Linked DNA regions of Homo sapiens: all the other regions are linked to region 1. Evidence: promoter capture Hi-C in 16 types of primary human blood cells and fetal thymus (Javierre and others, 2016). All regions are on one chromosome and are shown on one strand. Each heading gives the region's core, a stretch centred on a gene start or on the middle of the fragment in contact. The rest is flanking DNA. Distances are from core to core; before and after follow the strand shown. Region 1 holds the start of TCL1A (TCL1 family AKT coactivator A). Region 2 has its middle 52 kb from the start of C14orf132. Region 3 has its middle 29 kb from the start of C14orf132.

What was found. Contacts are between HindIII fragments. The CHiCAGO score rates a contact against its expected background, and 5 or more counts as called.
Region 2: a contact is called between a fragment that was not itself captured here and the fragment with the promoter of TCL1A in region 1, in 2 of 17 cell types (naive B cells and total B cells). The highest score is 7.0, in naive B cells.
Region 3: a contact is called between a fragment that was not itself captured here and the fragment with the promoter of TCL1A in region 1, in 1 of 17 cell types (naive B cells). The highest score is 7.8, in naive B cells.

The regions. Positions count from the first base shown.
Region 1 is chr14:95,712,158-95,716,359 of GRCh38, forward strand. TCL1A (TCL1 family AKT coactivator A) reads right to left here and starts at 1,968. Exons shown (of 4, transcript NM_021966.3): 1 at 1,790-1,968; 2 at 63-239. The coding sequence starts at 1,909. It overlaps LOC107984703 (a long non-coding RNA gene), which reads left to right and starts at 3,326. Exons shown (of 3, transcript NR_148060.1): 1 at 3,326-3,550. RefSeq lists enhancers at 29-128, 169-328, 369-588, 1,703-1,752 and a silencer at 1,983-2,222. The HindIII fragment of the contact is 7,267 bases long and covers 1-4,135 here.
Region 2 is chr14:95,985,143-95,989,084 of GRCh38, forward strand. No RefSeq gene overlaps it. Among named protein-coding and RNA genes, the nearest start is that of C14orf132, 52 kb to the right of the region's middle. The HindIII fragment of the contact is 628 bases long and covers 1,408-2,035 here.
Region 3 is chr14:96,008,107-96,012,005 of GRCh38, forward strand. No RefSeq gene overlaps it. Among named protein-coding and RNA genes, the nearest start is that of C14orf132, 29 kb to the right of the region's middle. The HindIII fragment of the contact is 396 bases long and covers 1,469-1,864 here.

The DNA of each region.
Region 1 (4,202 bases), core at 718-3,217:
CCAGACATGGAGGAGGGCAAACCCAAGATCACCCGATGGACCTCTGGGAGAAAGACACTCACCTTGATGTGGTACACTAAGCGCCAGAAACTGGAGTCTGAGGATCGGTATCGTCCATCAGGGTAGAGCTGCCACATGATAGGCAGCAGGCTTGGGCCTATCTGGGTGGGGGTCATAGGCCTCCCCAGGACGACGTCTTCCCGACGCAAGAGCACCCGTAACTGTAACCTATCCTTTATCTGAGGAGAAGAAAAGGACAGGGCATACTTTCAGGTTCCGCTTGCCAGGGCTTCTCCAGGCGCAGAAAACCGGAATCCCTCCTGCCAGCCATCCACCCATCTGGGCAGGGGTCCGAGTGTGAAATGATGGTCATCACTGTTCCCTGAAGCTCACTTCCTTAGGCCATGCATGCTCCTCTCAGGGACTCTGGCTGGGCCAGGACCACCAGCACACACACGTGTCTAGCCACCCAGACAGGGCCATGAAAGGCACACTTTTTTCTGGCGGGTTGCAGCGGCTCACACTTGTAATTCCAGTGCTTTGGAAGGCAGAGGCAGGAGGATCGCTTGAGGCCAGGAGTTTAAGACCAGCCTGGGTCACAGAGCGAGACCCTGTATCTACAGGAAAAAAAAAAAACAACAAAGAAAGAAAGAGAGAAAAAGAATACTGGCCTTTTCAATGATGTGAGGCAAAATCTGTCCCACAGTTTGCTAGTGGGTTATTTTTTGTGGAGCATGTATCATGATTTTATGAAAAACTGTCTGGTTCGTGGTTTTGGTGTCACGTTGAAGAAGAGATTTCTCAGAGATTTAAAAAAAGAAATCCACTGAATCTTCAAATTATTTCTTCAAATTTTGATTTTAAAAAAGTAAGTATTTAACTTGATTTTTAAAGTAAAAACATATTTAAAAAATTGAAATGCCAATAAAAATGCAGATTTTGTGGTGGTTAAGAGCCTAGAATTCCAACCCCATTACCTACTAGCAATCTTACCTCGGACAAATGTACATTTTTGTGCCTCAGTTTCCCATCTGTAGAGACACAGTCAACACTCAATAATTTTTGATTGCTACTGGACATACGTGTTCTAATATATTTTTTAATTTTTATGCTTTCTTCAGTGTATGTTTGGAGAGAGTTTGAACATTTTTTGACTCTTTTTCATTGAGTAAATCCAAATACTTGTAAAAGACTTATCTATTTCTTTAACAAAAACTTAACATGGATTAAGGACCCATCTTAAGGCATCACACATTAAAAAAGTCAATATTGATTCAATACCGGCGCTTATACTACGACATCACTTGTTAAATTTGTTTTCTAAATAAAGCCCAGAGGTAGTGGAAAATACTTCACACTCTAGGCCAGTGTTTGCTATGCCTGGTTGACCCTAAACTGTTGAGGGTTCTTTTTAAAAATACAGATTTCTGGGACCCACCTGAGATGATTCCGATAATCGGCCATATGGATGAGTCACTTAGAGATACCCATTTTTAAGGATTAGGACCCCGAAGCCCAGAAAATGCCTGCTGTAGTCAACATTATAGTCACACTCCACAGGCACTGGGTCCACCCCTTTGACCGACATTCCTTTGCGGTTTTCCCACCCTTCTTCCCTGCCTGGAGAACTCCTATTCATCCTCCAGAGCCCGGCTCAAAGTGGCTTCATCTGTGGGGATCCTCCCTGCCCCATAGTGAGTGCTCCTTGAGTCCTCGCCCTTCCTAGGGCATCCCAAGCTCCCAGGGGCTGCCCCTGCTGCCTCGCCATCCGCTCCAAAGCTGGCTGTACCTCGATGGTTAAGGGCAGCCAGGCGTGCTGCTTCTCGTCCAAATACACGAACTTCTCCCAGGCCCACAGGCGGTCCGGGTGGTCGGTGACTGCCTCCCCGAGTGTCGGGCACTCGGCCATGGCGTCCTCGGGCCGCCTAAGAAGCAAGAGCCAGAGCCTCTCAAGGCCGCTCGCTGGTCCCTGGGATGTGGGGCCGACCCTTTATATCCGGGCAGCATGCGGCCGCCACCAAGCGGCGGGGCGGGAGGACGGCCTTGGGGCGGGACCCCGGGTCGGGAGAACGACCTTGGGGCGGGGCGTAAGGCAGGATGGGGCGGGGTTTGTGGGGGTCTTGGTGGCAAGTGAGGGTCCCGCGCAGGCGCTACGTCCCGGCCTGACTTGCTCCCTGGAACGGTGGCAGCTCCTGGGAACGCAGACCCGGCCCCAGCTGGCCCGCGCCTTCCTCGAGGCCCCGGCCAGCAGCGACACCGACCGCCGCCCTCTGCTGCTGCTGGAGAGGCACCGGGGTGACCTTGGCCCTTTCTTCTTCTGGAAGACCCCCCCGCTTCCCTCGGCTGCCGGACCGGGACTCTGGGCCTCTGCTGGGAACTCACAGTCGACACCAGGATGCCCAGAGCCAGGACCCACTCCTCATCTTATGGGATCAGAAGAGACCCGCGCGGGCCTGAGTTAGGCCTGGGCTTTCCCGGGTTCCCTGGATCTCCACCAGCCTGTGCCTTTGAGTGTCAGAGTACGTTTTTTGGCAAAGGACAACTCCTGACGCTCCCTCTCCCTCTTCCATACACAAAGCATGCGTTTTCCACAGGTCTGATGTGCTGTGGACATCTAATAGCTATTACAAAATGGAGAATCATGGGTTTTTGCCCTTGGGCTTTGAGTTTACTAGTGAAAGCATAGTTCGAAATGAATACTTAAAAAGAAATCCCTCCTTCCACCCTAAGATCAATGGATTTGAAAAGTGCCTGGTTTATATGATCAAAACCACCCCTCTGTAAATTACAAGCAATAAGGAAAACAATTTCACTTTATTTTGCAGTAACGCATTCCCACTAAGGCAATTAAGAAAGTCATGCACAATGAAAAACATGTGAAACCAGCTCCAGCCTGGTTCAAACATCACCATGGGATGGAGTTTGGTGTCTCATCTTCCAGCTCTTTCCCAGTTCTCTGACCAGGCACTAAGAACATAATTTGTGATCCTTTGAAATATCACCAAAGTGGAAATTAAGAGATCTGATGAGGACATCTGATTCACCTGGCAGCTGGGTATCTGCCTCTTTGCCTATCCAGAGAGCCTAATTCCCAAGAAGGGGCTGAGAGGGCCTAAGGTAGTCGAGACATAATGGGATTTACCAGGAACACAACATAGAAGAGAAAAGCCAAGGGAAGTTGGGGGTGGAGTGAGGGCCCTTGAGCTCAGCAAACCTCTTTTCCACTGTAGCCCTTAGTGGTGTTAATATTTAATATGCAAACTTAAAGGTTTCATGCTGATTTTCCTGTGAATGGCTCTTGACTCCAGACCTAGATAGCCACAGAGCAAGATGACAAGCTCGCTAATAAGCTCTGTTGGGGAGGTCTCAGCCCAGGCCAGAGCTGTGAAGTGAGAAATAAGTCCAGTTTAAATAGTGCTGCTGGGATGGACTTTTGTGGCCAGGGAAGGGGTACCCAGGAGCCAGTGTGGCCACTGACCCAGCCTCATCAATGGCCCTAGGATCCAGAATGCCACAAACAATGGAGCAAGAATCAGATCTGTGTGTCTGGGTAAGCAGAATGTTCTGAGAATATAATTCCTTTTTCCTTCTTTTGTAAGAACAATTTATTTCTTCAGTTTTGCATGAGGGCTTCTTAATATTGAGCAAGAATATACATCATTATTGCGTGAGATTTAGAAAATTATTTGAGAGAGGGTTCCAATAAATGAAAATGAATTAAGGATGTCTGTGGAGTTCATTGGGCAACTTATAGAGCCCTTGAGCTTTTTTAAGTGAACATTCCACAAGAGGGGAAACAGTAGCTATTGCATAGTCTCAGAGCTGTCTCTGAGCCTCCGTGGCATGTTATCTGCCCCATCTAAGGGTTATAAAGGCCATAAGCCTAGCTTTAGAATTTTATGTTCCTTTCCAAGTCTTTGTTAGTCTGATTTCCCTGAGGATAAGCAAATGGATGTTTCACACAGAAAGCTACAGGAAGCAATCATTTTGACAGAATCCTTAATGGATGCGTTCATGTCCTGATTTAGATCTAGTTTTGCCTTTACCACGATCACCTGTGAACTTGACAAATCCTTTGCAACTTGGCCTCAGTGCCATAGTTTTGTAATGAATGGGGCAAAATACCTGCTCTCTAAGCTTGTTTCTAACTCAGTAGGCCCCAATCCTCCTATAACATTGCCTAGTGGGAGGAGGGAATAGTT
Region 2 (3,942 bases), core at 472-2,971, 270 kb after region 1:
AATGAATTGTAATCTTTTCATTGGTGTAGGGTCTTGCCTTGATGCTGAAAGCTGCTGACTGATCAGGGTGACGGTTGCTGATGGTTGGTGTGGCTGTGACAATTTATTAAAATAGACAAACATGAAGTTTCCCATATCGATTAACTCTTTTCTTCACAAAATATTCTCTGTAGTATTGTATGCTCTTAGATAGCATTTTACCCACAGTAGAACTTCTTTCAAAATTGAAGTCAGTCCTCTCAAACCCTATCACTGCTTTATCAACTCATTGTATGTAATATTCTAAATCCTTTGCTGTCATTTCAATAATATTCAAAGCATCTTCACTGGGAGTTGACTTCATCTCAAGAGATTTTAGCAATTCACTGATATCTTCAAGTTTCCCTTCTAATTCTAGTTCTCTTGCTGTTTCCACTACATCAGTAGTTACTTCCTCTGCAAAGTCTTGAACCCCTGGAAGTCATTCATGAGGGTTGAAATCAATGTCTTTCAAATTCCTGTTCATATTGATATTTTGACTTCCTCCTATGGATAAGGAATGTTCTTAATGACATTTAGAATGGTGAGTGTTTTCCAGAAAGTATTCAATTTACTTTGTCCAGATCCATCAGAGGATTCACTATCTATGGCAGCTATAGCCTTATAAAATGTATTTCTTAAATAATAAGACTTGAAAGTCAAAATTACCTCTTGATCCTTGGGCTGCAGAATGGATGTTGTGCTAGCAAGCATCGAAACAATATTCGTCTCCTTGTACAGCTCCATCAGAGCTCTTGGGTGACTAGGCTCGTTGTCAATGAGCAGTAATATTTTGAAAGGAATCTTTTCTTATGAGCAGTAAGTCTCAACAGGGGACTTAAGATACTCAGTAATTTATTCAGTAATCAATTTCATTAATTTCTCCTCTTCAGCTATGGAAGTCCTAGATGGCCTTTTCTTCTAGTAGAAGGCTGTTTCATCTACACTGAAGCCACCTTCATCAGTGGTCTTCTGGATAACTTGCTGCAACTTCTACATCAGCACTTGCTGCTTTCCCTTGCTCTTACATGTTATGGAGACAGCTTCTTTCCTTAAACCTCATGAACCAACCTTTGCTAGCTTCCAGCTTTTCTTCTGCAGCTTCTTCACTTCTCTCAACCTTCACAGAACTGAAGAGAGTTGGGGCCTTGTTCTGGGTTAGGCTTTGGCTTAAGAAAATGTGGCTGACTTGATCTTCTATTCTTATCACTAAAACTTTCTCCATATCAGCAATAAGGCTGCTTAGCCTTCTTATCTTTTGTGTGTTTACTGGAGCAGCACTTTTAATTTCCTTCAAGAATTTTTCCTTTACATTCACAACTTGGCTAACTGGCCCAAGAGGCCTAGCTTTTGGTCTGTCTCACTTTTTTTGACATGCCTTCCTCACTAAGCTTAATCATTTCTAGCTTTTAATTTAAAGTGACAGACGTGTGACTTTTCTTTTCACCTGAATGCTTCAAGGCCCATTGTAGGGTTATTAACTGGCCTAATGGCAATATTGTTATGTCTCAGGAAATAGGGAGGCTTGAGGAGAGGGGGAGAGATGATAGATCAGCTAATCAATGAAGCAGTCAGAACACATGCATTTATCAACTAAGTTCACTGTTTATGGCACCCCAAGACAATTGCAGTAGTGACATCAGAGATCATTGATCACAGATCACCATAACAGATATAATAATGAAAAAGTCTGAAGTATTTTGAGATTACCAAAATGTGAAACAGAGACACAAAGTGAGCACATGCTGTTAGAAAAATAAGACTTGCTGAACACAGAGTTGCTATAACCCTTTAATTTGTAATAGATGGAATATCTGTGAAGTGCAAAAAAGTGAAGTGCAATAAAATGAAGTTTATACTTGTGCTACATTTTTGAGGGTCATGTTACCAAAGAACCATACAGACAGACTGAATAAGACCTTCAGTCTTCAAGCCTTAAGGCTTGTACCAAACTTTTAGAACAGCAGTCCATAAGGAGGGCTTATTTCTCAATGCCTGATTCATGTGCTACCAAGGAAGCTTACAAAAAAAGAAATAACCTCATGGGTAGAACCAGGCTCATGGAGAAAAGTGAACAAAGCAGCATCTCTCAGAGAGCAAAACTAGAGCCTAATCATGGATGCCGAGGATATGGGCTTTCATGACGTCTGCCCAGTGGGATTTCAGAATTGCTATGGACAGTGACTCTATGTACTTCCCATCCTTCCCTTTTCCAAGTGGGAGGTGCCTATTGAGGCCATATTATCTCAGTTTCATCATTATATATTGGAAGCAGGGTTGGCAGGTGACTTTTTTTTTTTTTCCAGTTTTGGTATCCTTGGACCAAAAGGAGCCACATGCGAACTTGCTGGGAAGAAGGCCAGACATCACCCAGAGATCTGAGTTTGAACTGGATGTGGTGACTGGGGGAGATTTTAGAGGAGGGGTTGAGTGAGCTCTATGTGGGGGCAGAAAGAAATGAGAAGACAGTGATGAGAAGGGCACGCTCAGCAGAGATGGCATACACCAAGTATTCCATGTGCTTCTTTGCACTTCTCAGCCTCCCTTGCAGCTGGATTGAGACTGTGAATAATTATGGCCTGTGAATGCAAGTGGCATGTGTCTTTCTCTCTTGCAGAGGCAGTATATATCAAGTGACATACTAAAAAGTAGAAGAGACCCCCCTGAGCACATTGAACTTTACACAAGGAAAAACATAAACCTTTATTCCATGAAGTCATAGAGATTCCTGGGTTAGTTAGTTTCTGCAGCAGACCCTAGCCTGTCCTGACCAATATTCTGACTATGTGCTACTTTTCTTCAAGTCACTGAGTAGGAACAGATATTGAATAACAAAATAGCATGTTTAGGTAGTTATGAAGTTTCCAAATTTTAATAAAATTCTGATGCTCCTGGTCCCTGGACTTCTAGAACCTCTTCTGAACCAGTCTACAAGTTTGATTGCACTTATTTTTTCTGCTTTTATTTCTGAGCGTGAGGGAGGAGCTGGAAGACTCACTGATAGCTCTCTCTCCTCTTTCTCACTCTAGCCCTTCAGTAAACTGTGTGGGCTAGGTTTGGGGGGAACTTACATTATTTTATATTCTTTAATTTACTGAAATACTATGTATTTATATATAAATAATATACAACTGCATTTATAAATAGTATTATGCTAGAGGACACACTCACTGGACTTTCCTCTATACTCCCCAATCCTACATTAAGTTATATTCAGGTTTGAGGTCCCCCATGGGACTAGGTTGTTTCATTCCTTCATGCTTTGTCTGCACTCCTTCTTCTGTCTGGAACATCCTCTCTCCCCACCACCTTCTCCATACCCCAAACTCACCCGTTCATTTTCTCAAATTGGGCTCTCTCTGTGCTCCTGGGCTGACTAGACCACCCCCTCCTTGGTGAACCTGTGGTGCCTCCAGTACCCCAAACTCATCACAGGAAGGCCCTGTAGACATTTCCCTTCTGTGATAATTAATTCCATGTGTCAACTTGACTGAGCTAAGAGATGCCCAGATAGCTGGTAAAACATGATTTCTGGGTGCATCTGTGAGGGTGTTTCCAGAAGAGATTAGCATTTGAATGAATGGACTGAGTAGAGAATGTGGGTGGGTGACATCCAATCTGTTGAGGGCCCAGATAGAAAAAAATGACAGAAGAGGGGCAAATTCTCTTTCTTCTTCAGCTGGAACTTCCATCTTTTCCTGACCTTTGACATTGACTCCTTGTTCTTGGGCCCTCAGACTCCAGGACTTACACCAGCAGCCCCTCTGTTCTCAGGCCTTTGGACTCAGATTGAATTACATCACCAGCTTTCCTCGGTCTCCAGCTTGCAGATGGCAAATCATGGAACTTCTCAGACTCCAAAATCACATAAGCCAATTGCCATAATAAATCTCCTTTTAGATCTCTCTCTTGCTCTTTCTTTCT
Region 3 (3,899 bases), core at 417-2,916, 300 kb after region 1:
ATGTCCTTTGCAGAGACATGGATGGAGGTGGAAACCATCATCCTCAGTAAACTGACACAGGAACAGAAAACCAAACACTGCATGTTCTCACTCATAAGTGGGAGCTGAACAATGAGAACATATGGACACAGGGAGGGTAACAACACACACTGGGACCTGTTGTTCCCCTCCCTGTGGGACCTGTTGCGGAGGGCAGGGGAAGGGAGAGCATCAGGGTAAATAGCTAATGCATGTGAGCTTAATACCTAGATGATGGGTTGATCTGTGCGGCAAACCACCACCGCACGTTTAACTACATAACAAACCTGCATGTTCTGCTCATGTATCCCAAAACTTAAAATAAAATCAAATTAAAAAAAAAAAACAGAGAAAGGGATTGCCAAAATTGTAAAGAAAAAATCATATTTCTTTATACTACCAATGAAAAATTAGAACTTGAAATAAAAATAACAGTACATTTTAAATACTACCAAAAATATAAAATACTTGGGCATAAATATTATAAAATATGTGCAATATCTATACTCTGATAGCTGCAAAACACTAATGAAAGCAATGAAAGAAGGCCTAAATAAATGAAGAGGCATATATTGTTCATGAATGGAAGATTCACTATTATTAAGATGGCAATTATCACCAAACTGATATATAGATTTAGTGCGATTCCAATCAAAATCTCAGGCCAGGAGTGGTGGCACATGCCTTTAATCCCAGCACTTTGGGAGGCTGAGGCAGGAGGATTGCTTGAGCTCAGGAGTTTGAGACCAGCCTGGGCAACACGGTGAAACCCCATGTCTACAAAAAATACAAAAATTAGCTGGGTGTAATTGTGTTCACCTGTAGTACCAGCTACTCAGGAGGCTGAGGTGGAAGGATCACCTGAGCCTGGGAAGTCGAGGCTGCAGTGAGCCATGATCATACCACTGCTCTCCAGCCTGGGTGAGAGAATGAGATCCTGTCTCAAAAAATAAAAATAAAAATAAATTTAAAAATCCTGGCAGGACTTTTTTGTAGAAATTGGCAAAGTAATTCTAAAATTTTTATGGAAATTTTAAAAAATAACTAGAATGGCAAAACAAATTGTAAGAAAAGTAGCAAAATTGGAAGACTCACACTACCAGATTTTCAGGCTTACTATAAAGCTGGCAGTCAAGAGAATCTGCTATTAGAAAAGGATTAACATCTAGATTAGTGGAACAGACTAGAATAGACCAATACACATGTGGTCATTTGGTTTTTGACAAAGTCCCAAAGGCAACTTAATGGAGAAATGATAGTTTTTCTCAACAAATTGTTCTTGGACAATTGAATATCCCTAGGCAAATAAATGGATATGCCTCAAGGCATGCATTACCCACTATAGAAATATTAACTCAAAATAGATCTCAGGCCTAAATGTAAAGCCTAAAACCACAATACTTTTGGGAAAAAAAAATAGGAGAAAATCTTTATAGCCTTAATTAGGTAAAGCTTTCTTAAATACAACACCAAAAACATGACCCATAAAAGAAAATATGATAAATAGGGCCTAATCAAAATTAAGAACTTCTGCCCTTTGAAAGACACTTTAAAAAATGGAAAGACCAGCCACAGACTGGGAGGAAATGTTTGACATTACATGTCAGGTAAAAGACTTGTTTCTAATGTATAAAGAACTTTTAAAACTCAATAAACAAACAACTTTTAAAATAGACAAGATATTTAAATGGGAACTTTTATCAAAGAAGATATACAGATAACAAATAAGTATATGAAAAGATGCTCAATGTCCTTAGTCATGAGGAAAATAGAATTTTGGACCAAAATGAGATAAAGCTACATACCAATTAACATAACTTTATAAAAAGCAAACCTGATGACAGGAAGCTTAGGTAAGGATGAGGTGCAACTGGAACTCTCATACCTTGCTGTTGGGAATGCAAATGGTACAGACACTTATACTTTGGCATTTTCTCACTGTATGAGGCCATTCTTGCATTGCTATAAAGAAATACCTGAGACTGGGTAATTTATAAAGATAAGAGGTTTAATTGGTTCACGGTTCTGCAGGCTTTACAGAAAGCATAGTGCTGGCATCTGCTCAGCTTCTAGGGAGGCTTCCGGAAACTTACAATCATGGCAGAAGGCAAAGGGTAATCAGGCATGTCACATGGTGAAAGAAACAGCAAGAAAGAGAGAATGGAGAGGGGGAGGTGCCACACACTTTTAAACGACCAGATCTCATGTGAACTCAGAGCAAGAGCTCACTTATCATCAAAGGGATGGCTGAAGCCATTCATGAAGGATCTGCCCCCATTATCCAAATATTTCCCACAAGGCCCCACCTCCAACATTGGGGATTACATTTCAATATGAGATTTCAGTGAGGATGGATACTCAAACTATCATTCTATCCCTGGCCCATAAAATCTCATGTCCTTCTCACATTGAACAACACAATTATACCTTCCCAATAATCCCCCAAAGTCCTAACTCATTCTGGCGTAAACTCAAAAGTCCAAAGTCTCATCTGAGACAAGGCAAGTCCCTTCCACCTATGAGCCTGTAAAATCAAAACAAGTTATTTCCTCCCAAGATATAATGGGGGTATAGGCATTTGGTAAACATTCTCATTCCAAAAGGGAGAAATCAGCCAAAGAAAGGGGCTACAGGCCCCACGCAAGTTCAAAACCCAACAGGGCAGTCATTAAATCTTAAAGCTCCAGAATAATCTCCTTTGACTCCATATCCTGCATCCAGGCACACTGGAGCAAGGAGTGGGCTCTTAGGAAGCTCTGTACCTGCTGCTTTTCCATGCTGAGATTGCAAGTTACTGGTGGTTCTACCATTTCCACTTCTGGAGAGCTGCGGCACCCTTCCCACAGCTCCACTGGGTGGTACCCCATTGGGGACTCTGTGTGGGGACTCCAACCCCACATTTCCCCTTGGCAATGCCCTAGCAGAGGTCTCTCTGGGGGCTCCACCCCTGCAGCAGACTTCTGCCTGGGTATGCAGGCTTTCTCATACAGCCTCTGAAATCTAGGCAGAAGCTGCCAAGTATTCTTCACTCTTGCACTCTGCACACCTGAAGGCTAAACACGACATAGAGGATGCCAAGGCAGCAGGCTGAGCTGTATCTGGGTCCCTTTGAGCCAAGGCTGGAGCTGGAGCAGTCCAGATGTGGGGAGGAGTGTCACAAGACTGCACAGGGCATAGAGGCCCTGGGCCTGGCCCTTAAAACCATTTAGTCCTTCTAGGCCTCAAGGCCTGTGATGGGAGGGGCTGCCTCTTAGATCTCTAAAATGTCTTTGAGGCCTTTTCCTCATTGTCTTGGATATTAGCACTTGGCTCCCTTTCAATTATGCAAATATCTCTAACACATGATTGATCCACAGTCTGTTTGAATTCCTCTACTGAAAAAGCTTTTTCTTTCTTTGCCACATGGCTAGGCTGAAAATTTTCCAAACTTTTATCCTCTGCTTCCTGTTTCCAACTGTTCCAAAATTCCAACTTTTAAGTCATTTCTTTCTTTGCACATCTGAACATAGGCTGTTAGAAGCAGCCAGGCTATATCTTGAGCACTGCTGTTTAGAAATCTCCTCCACCAGCTCCTCTAGGTTGTCACTCTTTAGTTCTAACTTTCAACAGATCCCTAAGGCATGAACAAAATGCAGCCAAGCTCTTTGCATAACACACATGACCTTTGCTCCAGTTCCCAATAAGTTCCTCATTTCCACCTCAGCTGCTGGACTTCACTGTCCATATCACTGTCAGCATTTTGGTCACAATCACTGAACCAGCTTCTGAGAAATTCCAAATGTTTCCTCATCTTCCTTTCTTTTCCTGAGCCCTCCAAACACTTCCAACCTCTGCCTGTTAACCAGTTCCAAAGCTGCTTCCACATTTTCAGATATTTTTAT